3 separate regions of the Homo sapiens genome follow, and all the other regions are linked to region 3. Evidence: promoter capture Hi-C in 16 types of primary human blood cells and fetal thymus (Javierre and others, 2016). All regions are on one chromosome and are shown on one strand. Each heading gives the region's core, a stretch centred on a gene start or on the middle of the fragment in contact. The rest is flanking DNA. Distances are from core to core; before and after follow the strand shown. Region 1 has its middle 22 kb from the start of LINC02458. Region 2 has its middle 46 kb from the start of LINC02458. Region 3 holds the start of LUM (lumican).

What was found. The method cuts DNA at HindIII sites, captures the fragments that hold promoters and counts their contacts. A CHiCAGO score of 5 or more calls a contact.
Region 1: a contact is called between a fragment that was not itself captured here and the fragment with the promoter of LUM in region 3, in 1 of 17 cell types (neutrophils). The highest score is 5.1, in neutrophils.
Region 2: a contact is called between a fragment that was not itself captured here and the fragment with the promoter of LUM in region 3, in 1 of 17 cell types (neutrophils). The highest score is 6.5, in neutrophils.

Annotation. Positions count from the first base shown.
Region 1 is chr12:88,996,261-88,999,298 of GRCh38, forward strand. No RefSeq gene overlaps it. Among named protein-coding and RNA genes, the nearest start is that of LINC02458, 22 kb to the right of the region's middle. The HindIII fragment of the contact is 1,857 bases long and covers 555-2,411 here.
Region 2 is chr12:88,971,955-88,975,132 of GRCh38, forward strand. No RefSeq gene overlaps it. Among named protein-coding and RNA genes, the nearest start is that of LINC02458, 46 kb to the right of the region's middle. The HindIII fragment of the contact is 1,571 bases long and covers 466-2,036 here.
Region 3 is chr12:91,109,683-91,112,836 of GRCh38, forward strand. It overlaps LUM (lumican), which reads right to left and starts at 1,812. Exons shown (of 3, transcript NM_002345.4): 1 at 1,716-1,812. The HindIII fragment of the contact is 5,015 bases long and covers 575-3,154 here.

The DNA.
Region 1 (3,038 bases), core at 233-2,732, 2.1 Mb before region 3:
TGGAGGGATAATAGCTGGATCATGAGGGACTTCATTTGCCAATTTAAGGTCTGAACTGAATTCTGAGGCTTGAGGAGTTATTGATGCATAAAACACTGGGTCGCTTTAACTATAACATGGAACATAAAGTAGAGAGGGCATGACTACACAGAAATGTAAGCAGATGTTTTTGGGTGGGATTTACATAAAATCTCTTTAAGTGACCTTAATTTGGCATGAATTTTTTTTCTCTCCTCCATTTTATTGCTTTCTCCTTGGAATATGAATGTGATGGCTGGATTCCAGCAAACATCTTGTGACTTTGAGGAAGGAAGTGACATGGAGTGAGTGAGCAAGGAAAAAAAATGAGTCTGGATTTTTATGACTTTGTGCATTCATCTTACTAGTTATAGATCACCTACCTTTGCACTACCCCATCCCTTTTACTCTCTCCTTCCACAGAGTGAACCATGATCCTCTAACTGGTGTGCATCATCCCATAAATTTTTACTTTATTGCATATGAATCGAAAATAAATGTATCATTTTGTGTTATATTAATTAGGATGCATATTAAGCTTCTATAAAAAAGAAACCCCAAAATATAATGGTTCAAAAATTCCATGGCTCATAGAGTCCAGTGATAGGCTAGCAATTCAGGGCAGATGTCTTTACCCACAAGATTAGCCAAGATCTAGATTCCCTCTCTTGTTGCTGCATCATGACCTCGGGTGTCTTCATAGTTGAAGCTGGCATTCTTGCATTCTAGCCATTGGAAAGGGAAAAGAGAGGGAGGGTGGATGTGCAGCCCCCTTTCACATTTATGGATATAAAATTGAAGTTGTACACATAATTCTATTCACACCATATGGGGCAGAATTTTACTCATGGCTGTACCTAGCTTCAAGGGAGGCTGGATAATATCTGCCAGTATAACCATATACATTGCTGAATCTTGGGCAATGGGCTCTTCTCTCGTTGGAAGAGAGAAGGGTAGACTGGATTCTAAGCCAAAATTAGTAACTCGTAGGTTTTTAACATTTATATAAATTGACTGCATTGTGTGTATCTTTCAGTAATTAAGTTTTTTACATTTGATATTGCATTTTTTACATTTGTTCCTGTTACATTAAATAAATTTTAATCGCTTTAATAATTGTATTGCACTCATTCTAGGGATAAATCATACATTATCTGTTCATCTACTGGTGGATGAGATATAAAATTCTAGTAAACCCATCTTCTCTTGTAGTGTTGAACCAATACAAAATCAGTCTAAGCATGTGGGAAATTGCATTTAAAAATGGTGGCTTTCGAGTACACCATGAGGCAAGCTATTCCAGAGGTCATAGAATGGAGAGGTTTACTGGTCAAGTTAAGATGCTCAAATCACATGGCTTACTAAATTAATATAAAACATAGTAAGAAGAAAAGGGAAAGATATGGCATAAGTTAATACAGTTAGGATAGGATGCAAGCAAGATAAAGGGACCACGCTAGCTGAATCCTGTGTCTCTGTGGCACCAGTCTTCCCTCCTGATGATAGGGTTGTGAGGACCAGAGTTGAATTTTGAGGCAAGGGGGTCTCCAGATAAAAGGTGGCTGAGCCAACATATATTCTTGCTCTGTTGAAGAGACCCAGGGGCAATTAACCTGATAAGCAACTATAAATTTTTAATTGCTTTTCCTGGGCAGAGAACTTGTAGGGCCAGAATGGATGACCGATTTTAGACTTACTGCTGCTTCATGCATATCATCAGTATTAGGTGCTTCAGTGCCTCATATCTATTTAATGAATTATAAATATTTAGATCCTCTTCATTCTTCTTTACTTTTTATCTGTGTTTAGCACTCATATGCTCTAATTACTTTATCCATGTCTGTCATCTTACAGGTTACTGACTTATATATAATTAAACATATTAAATGAGTTTCATCAATCCCATTTGTATTTCCTATCTTCTACAACAGAATTGAATATTCTAAAATAATAAAAAAAATACATAGTGTAAGTTAGGGCAGACCTTTCCTATAAGAGGGGAAAGCCTTTACCACTAACTTCATGACATGGTCAAGAGTAATTGTCAGACCTCTTCCAAAGTAGAAGAGATGAAGACATGCCTGGTTTCTTTTTGCAAAATCACCCATATGGTAAATCACTTCACCTCTCCAAGTGCTAAGTGAGTGGATATAGAGAGGTCAGGAAGGTTATACAAATGCAGATAGTTCCACTTAAAAGACAACAGCAGCAGTATGGAATATTTCCCTCTCAAATGAAACTAGAATTCACAGATGAAGAACAAAAACATTACTGTTATAACCTACAAGGCTGGTATCAGGAAATGTAGCTTACATCTGGCAGAGAAGTGGGTTTCATAATGTTGAACTCCGGAATTAGGCTGACTTACTCACAGTCAGTACTGGACCGATACAAGCTTCACACATGGGGAAAAGATTTTCATGACTAAGATTAATGTGGCCCATAATCTTGAGAGCAACTGGGAGCAGTGTCAGTTCCCAGATTCACTTGCCCAGTTCCAGACCCCAAATCAATAGTCAGGTTATTCTCTCCTTATTGGGAGGAGCGAGTGAGGGTGGATGGAAATGAAGTATCTGGAGCAAAAAAAAAAAAAAAAAAAAAAAGTTCTTCCTGACAATTTCCAGTTTTTATCTTAATCTACTGGGTTTAACCATTAAAAGTATAATCAGACAAGGAGAAGATCATTCTATTAGGGTAGCCCCATTCCTATGTTTACAAGGCCTCTTTCTAACACCAACCATTACTCCTTTGGGTTCTTCTTGGAACCACTGCTAATGTAGAGAGCACCCTCCAAAGTCAAGTGTAGAGTAAACTCTCAAAAGGTTCTGAACATGTCAGAGTGGTAAATTAGTTATGTTAGCTCCAAGCCCACTCCATATCAGTGCTGAAATTCACTGTCTATTTTGTCTAGCATCATTGTCCAATATGACTCATGAGAAATTAATATTCAAAGATTAAAGATATACCTGTCAAAAATCTAATTATTTTGCCATTGTGAGTTGAAGTTGAAATAAATGAGA
Region 2 (3,178 bases), core at 1-2,500, 2.1 Mb before region 3:
CCTAAGAATCTATTTTCCAGTCATCTTCCTGGAGCTAGCTGGATCATAGATTCAAGAATGGCTCTTGGAGGTCAAAGGTTCCAAACCATTCTCATTTTGTGAGAATAGTAAGTCACAGTCCATGATAGGATCTTGATACAACATTGCTAAATTCTACTGCATCCTGAATAGAGTGTGACATAATTGCCAGTATCATCCATATGGTTCCAAGTGAATCTTAACTGAATGCCAAAACCCAGAAGTTGTATGCTGAGTAGGTGTAAGATAAATGTCATTACCTGATCTGTGCAGTAGCCTCCCAGGCCTCTATGAGACATTAGTAGTGTTTGACTTGTTGTCATTAAAGACAAAAAAAGGAAACTTTATACAGTATGTAGTGGTTTTCCAGGTTCCACGCAGCACGCAGGTTGCAAAGTGAGCCCAGCCTTACACCTACCCCATTGCCCTCTCACTAATTATTCATCAAGCTTATTTCCCAATCTGACTCCTCATTTCCATAACCTATTTTCCTCTTCACCTTTCTACCTCTCTGCTCCAGTTTTTAATTTTTTTTCCTTTCTCATTCTCTAATGCAAAAGTACATTTTGTCCCTAGATAGCACATTTTATATATTCAGGTTAATATTATTAGACTAAAACATTCCTCTTTACTATCATTGATCCCTAAAGCAATCCTGAAATGGCAACCCATTTAAAGCAGAACTCCAGTCTAGATGCAAAGGCAAGAATCCCCCAGCTACAAAAGGGGTACACTTTTCATTGTATTTTCAATTCATGTTATTCATCTTAGAAGCTATAGAGCCTTTTAAGAGCCTTTAACTGTATTTCTAGTGTCAGAGAACATTTAACCAAAAAGGCAATCTCTTCCTTTACATTTATGTCAAATTAAGTACTTGGTGAAAGTAACAGCCCTGGACAGGGAATCATGTTCTCAGGTGCACGTTTCTAGCTTGATATTGGCTGTGGGCTCACAAGCAATTTATTAAATTTTTAAAGCCTTGGTTCCCTCATCTGTAAGATGGGAATCCTAAAATGCCTACATTACTATCACTGGGCAAGTAAATGACACAATACACAGTTCCTTGCACATAAGGAAGACTTAAGAAATTAGTCACATTATTATTAGCATTATTATTATCATTAATAATACATTAACATTTACATAATGAAAGATTCACCAGCTAAAAAATAAATCTCCATGCGATTGGTTCAGTGTCCAAAATACAGGCTGGAAAAGAGAATCAGAAGGCAGGTGCTGGTTTGTGAAACTACAAATCCCAGAGAATAACAAAGTGTGATGAATAAGTTACGTGGTTAATAAACGTAGTTTGTGATTTGGTTAAATACGTGCCCCATTCTCAGGGACTCGGAGAAGAAATTCTATTTTGATTATCCCAGTTTGAATAGGAAACACAAGATAAATGGTTGATTCTTTCCCTTTATTTACCAGTTTAGCACATCGAATGTGATTAATAAGTTCCATAAATCTATCTTAATTTATAGGCATTTTCATTTTATTCTCTTGATACCTATTTGTCAGAAAGACTGAATCATTAGATCTTTTGAGATCTTTAAAATTTCCCTCAGTCAGGATTTTTCTAATTGCATCCCTGTGGTGTCATTAGGAGATTCCCATGTTCTCTATTTTTTCTGTCAACTGTTAAATCTAAGGCATGATCCGATTCAGATTTGATATTTTTTTTGCAAGGCTACCTTAGAGATGATGCACTGTTCCATCAGAAGTCACGTTGTCTCTCTTTTATTTTATAAGCTGTAATTGATGCCATGGTCTTGAGCCCTAATGGGGATCACTGGGGCTGGGGAAGAATGAGAAAAATATTGCAATTCTATCATTTCTTCACTTATTTCTTAAAATATTTCTATAATGAGAAACTTTCCCTTGCTTTCCATTTGGTTACTTAATGGTACAACATAGGAAACATAGGGTAAATGCTTAATCCTTCTCCCAACTTCTAAATTTTAAAAAGAATAAATTGGTTCTCCGCATTCTGAAGCTAGTACATTTTGTTGATGGTAAGCTTTCTTTTTTTTTTTTGGATAAGTATTATTATGAACCCATTGATTTAAATGTATTTAGTATTAAAGTCATTGCAGCTTACATCTTTATTGATAATCAGATTGCTTCATCTTTTTATGAAGTTGCATTTATTGTAATATATGGATACAGGTCCAGTTACTGAAAGAATAATCAGACAAAAATCAGCAGATAAAAAGAAATTGTAAAAATGATGACTAAGAGTTTACGTAGTCTTATATATAAAACACTGCTCAAACAACTATAGAATATATGGTTTTTCTTGTATAATTGGAATTGTTTTCTCTTTTGCCAGTGGATCTTCTTTAGGTTGATTCCTGAATCTTTTTAACACTACCTTAATAGTGTTTAATAGCCTCCTTGGTAAAATATTTCAAACTCATCTTGTACATTTCCTGTCCCAGGAATTGTGGTTTGCTTTAGTGGGAAATAGTATTTCAGAATAAAAATCCGAGTGTTAGAGGGCTTATTACTCTTTGGTTAACCATGGTTTCTAGGCCTTTTCATTAGACTAAGCTAGGAATTATTTTTAAGATAAATCACATCAAAATCCCTACTATATCTTCCAATTTAAATTCAAGACTACAGGATTTTTACTTAACCTCTTCTATCTTATTTCTGTGTCTCCTTTCTCCTATTTTGAGGATGACAAACCTGGCTCTCAAGGACACAGGGATAACTGAATTAAGCCATCACATAGCTACTCATTTGTCTGTTTCCAGATTATCACACAATAGTGGTAGAATAAAACACCTACTCGACCTGCAGTATTACTACAGTCACGTTACTGGGTTTTAAAACCATTTAGAATACTTCTTCACCATGTGGCTATCCCACAAACTGAACATACATTTGTGGTTTTTCTTAGTTGATAGAGATTTTTCAATTGAATTGAGTTTTTAATTTTGTGAAATATTTATGTGGTTTTAAAATCAAATTTATCAATCTAGCATATTTAAAGAAATCTAGCTTGCATCCCTATTCCCTCTACCTATTCCTTCCACTCTCTAGAAGTAACCATTTTTCTAATGTTATGGGTGTTTTTCTTTATTGTTTTATTTTGCATAGCCTACTAAGATAAATGTAGCACATTTTCCTCACCTTGCTTTTCTCACTTCACAAT
Region 3 (3,154 bases), core at 562-3,061:
TATTAGTAATATTTAATAATTGCTAATGTTTATCAGGAAAATGTCACACATTCTGAAGGTTTCTCTTTCTGGAAAGAGATTCAACAGGTAGAGAAAGATAGTATTTTCCAAGTTTTCAATTAGAGTTATAGTCTCTCTCAATTACTCACAAGTTCTCTACTTTCTTCATGCCAAAATCGAAGATGCCATGGTTTGCATATCTGGCTTTTAGTGGCCTCACAGAATGGAGGTGGGAGAGAGGTGTGATGTTTTTAAAGTTTGGATTTAATACTGGTGTTAGAACTATCTAGTAAATTATTCAATTGAGAATATGAATTTGAAATAATGTGTAACAGTTATCTTCTCATAGGAACATGTTTCTAAGGTGAGGCTCAAAAAAGTACATTTCAATGTCTTAGGTGCAGCAATTTAGATATGGGAAAATTGGAATATAAGAGTTAGACTTTTATAGAGTGAACAGTTGTGGCTGAGGCAAAGTTGGTAGCCCTGGGAGATAAATCATTAATGTGACGAAAGATCTACATTCTAATAGATAACTGAGAATATTATATCTTTCTATGAAAGTATGATTACAAGCTTTTGGATCAAAGTAGTTTGGGATAAGCAGGATCTTTGGGGTTAGAAACTGAAAACGTCTTTTATTTGTTTTAATTTGAAATTGTAAGGCACTTTATTTCAGATCAGATGGAACGTTATAAAACAGCTTTTAGAAATACTTTGATTGCTGACATAAGGTAACATGTAGCCAGATTCTCAGTAAATTACTCTCTAAGATTTTAATGGGGGCATTTAATTTTGCTGACAGAACTTGGCCATAATAATAATTGCATAGCACTAAAAAGAACGTGATGACATATTCCCAGAGTTATTTTAAGTTATAGAATGTAAATACTGTAAAGATTTGTCTTGCTTTATTAATAAGCTATTTTAAATTTACTATACACCAAAATATGGCAACTATAATGTGAGTATTAAATAGTAATGAAAAATGCTTCCATATTTTTTGGCAAAGTAAAAACAAGGATGCTGAATTGAATGAGAGTTTGCAACCATATAATGACTCCACTATGAGGCAAAATCACACTGTACTACCCTCAGTTTTTTCAAATACCTGTGGCTATAGAGAAAATGCTGTTTTCAAAAACGAAATCATTTCCCAGAACTTTTTAAAAAACTCGTTCCTTAAGGCATATATCCAAGAAACAAATTTTTTAAATTAACAAAACAGAAATAAATAATCCATAAGAGTTCCTAAATCTTTTAGCTCATGTTTTATAACATAGAACGTTTATTGTAAATTATAACAAATTGTCACAATATGCTTATTAAAAGATATTTTGAATGCTGATTAAAATGACTTTTCTTTGCTCCAGTATTAGGGTCCAATACTAACATATATAACTAACTAGCATACATAACAAACATATTAATTTCTATATTTTTTCACTGTGTCTACTTTAACTATTTTCTCATTCTAACCTTGAAACTTTTTATAACTTCTCTTGCCAAGCAATACAGCATATACTGTATAAAATCTCAAATCTATAAATCATGGAAAACATATTAACAAAATGTGAAACTAAATGCTCAGAACTGTGGATTTGCTGTTGAATAGCAATTGGCAAAATTGCTCTGGAATTTTTCCTGTTCCTGTTACAAAAAACGCTGTCCCAAACAGTTAACATCCCCAGTGCAATAGTTAAAACAGCACTTACCTTACTGTCTTGACACTGCTTTCGTTAATTCTTAAAGCAGATGCACTATGGACAAGAATCCACCAATATATGCTGTGAACTCTGTCAGGACGGAACTGGCTGCCAGATTCTGAGTGATACAAGAGCTGAAGGGGGGTGGGGAGACCCAGCCCAGTCACGCCAGTCTCTGAATGGAGTTATGTCATTGTGGGGATCTTGTGGTGTGGCATGTGAACACTGCTCTCTAACGAAGTGCAGGTGAACGTGGGGAGAAAGGACAGCCCAGCTCATTCCCTATGGAATGGGAGAGAGATATGTGTTTAACTAGCTCAAATACCATAGCTTTTAACCAAGAATTGAGTCCTGCTTCAAATAAGGAAGCTCACTGTGAGAACATTTTTCTTACAAGCCTCTTTACATCTGTGGCTGTGGCAACAATTAAGTGCAATGTGCTCAGCCAACTATCATGTTTATCTAAAGATCTCAGAAATCATAAGCAGGGCAAATAATTTCAGGAAAACGCAAATGAACAGACTCAGAGGAATTGAATCCCTTTGCCTATCACTTTTGAAATCAATATTGATTTACTTGGACTAACTTAATTTTTTGGCCATGAGGGTAGCTTACATTAGTTTTAAAAATATAAAATATGCTTCATATACACTTGGATACACATGATAAATATCAACATTTCAAGTTTACTTCTAATGCTAAGGAGACTCATTTTATGTTATTCAGGTCTGGAACCAATCAGCAAAGTCTTGCCTGTTTTTTATTTTGTGGATTTCGTTTAGGAATTCACCCAAAACCTTACTTGGGGAGAGCATTCTATAGCTTAATGCCAAAAAACATAAAAGAACAGAGAAAAAAATAAATTTATACTAAAAGTATCACAAGGCAAGAATCTTTCATTGCATGCTAGTAATTTTTTTTCAAAGTTAAAAGTTATTCAAAGTTATAATCTCCCAAAGGCCTGGCTGGATATATCTTTCATTATCAGCTCCTGATGCATGGTTTCAGCAAATGAGAGATGTACTTAAATCCTTGTCTATTTCATTTTGTGATTTTATCAGATATATTTATGAGATTTTTTTCTAAAATGTTCATTTCCTCATGTTTATAAGAACTTTTACACCAATATATTTTAATATAAGTTGTCACATTGTATTTTTGTCTTTAAAAATAACTATATCACATTTTAGCAGTGAGACTTGTGGAAAATTAACTCCATGACTAATACTGCATTTGTCCGAAAAAAAGACTATTAGAATAAATGGCTTATTTTTGTAATAGCAGTGTTCAAAAACAAAAAGTAATCTTCTTGAAAGTAACTAATGGAATTGTAAGATGATTCATAAACATAACATTTTTCCTAATATTATTTTAAGAAAATTATTGATAGGCCTCAGTTTCAACAAAGTAACTGAATAAATTTATAAGGAATTAAGAAAAAAAGACAA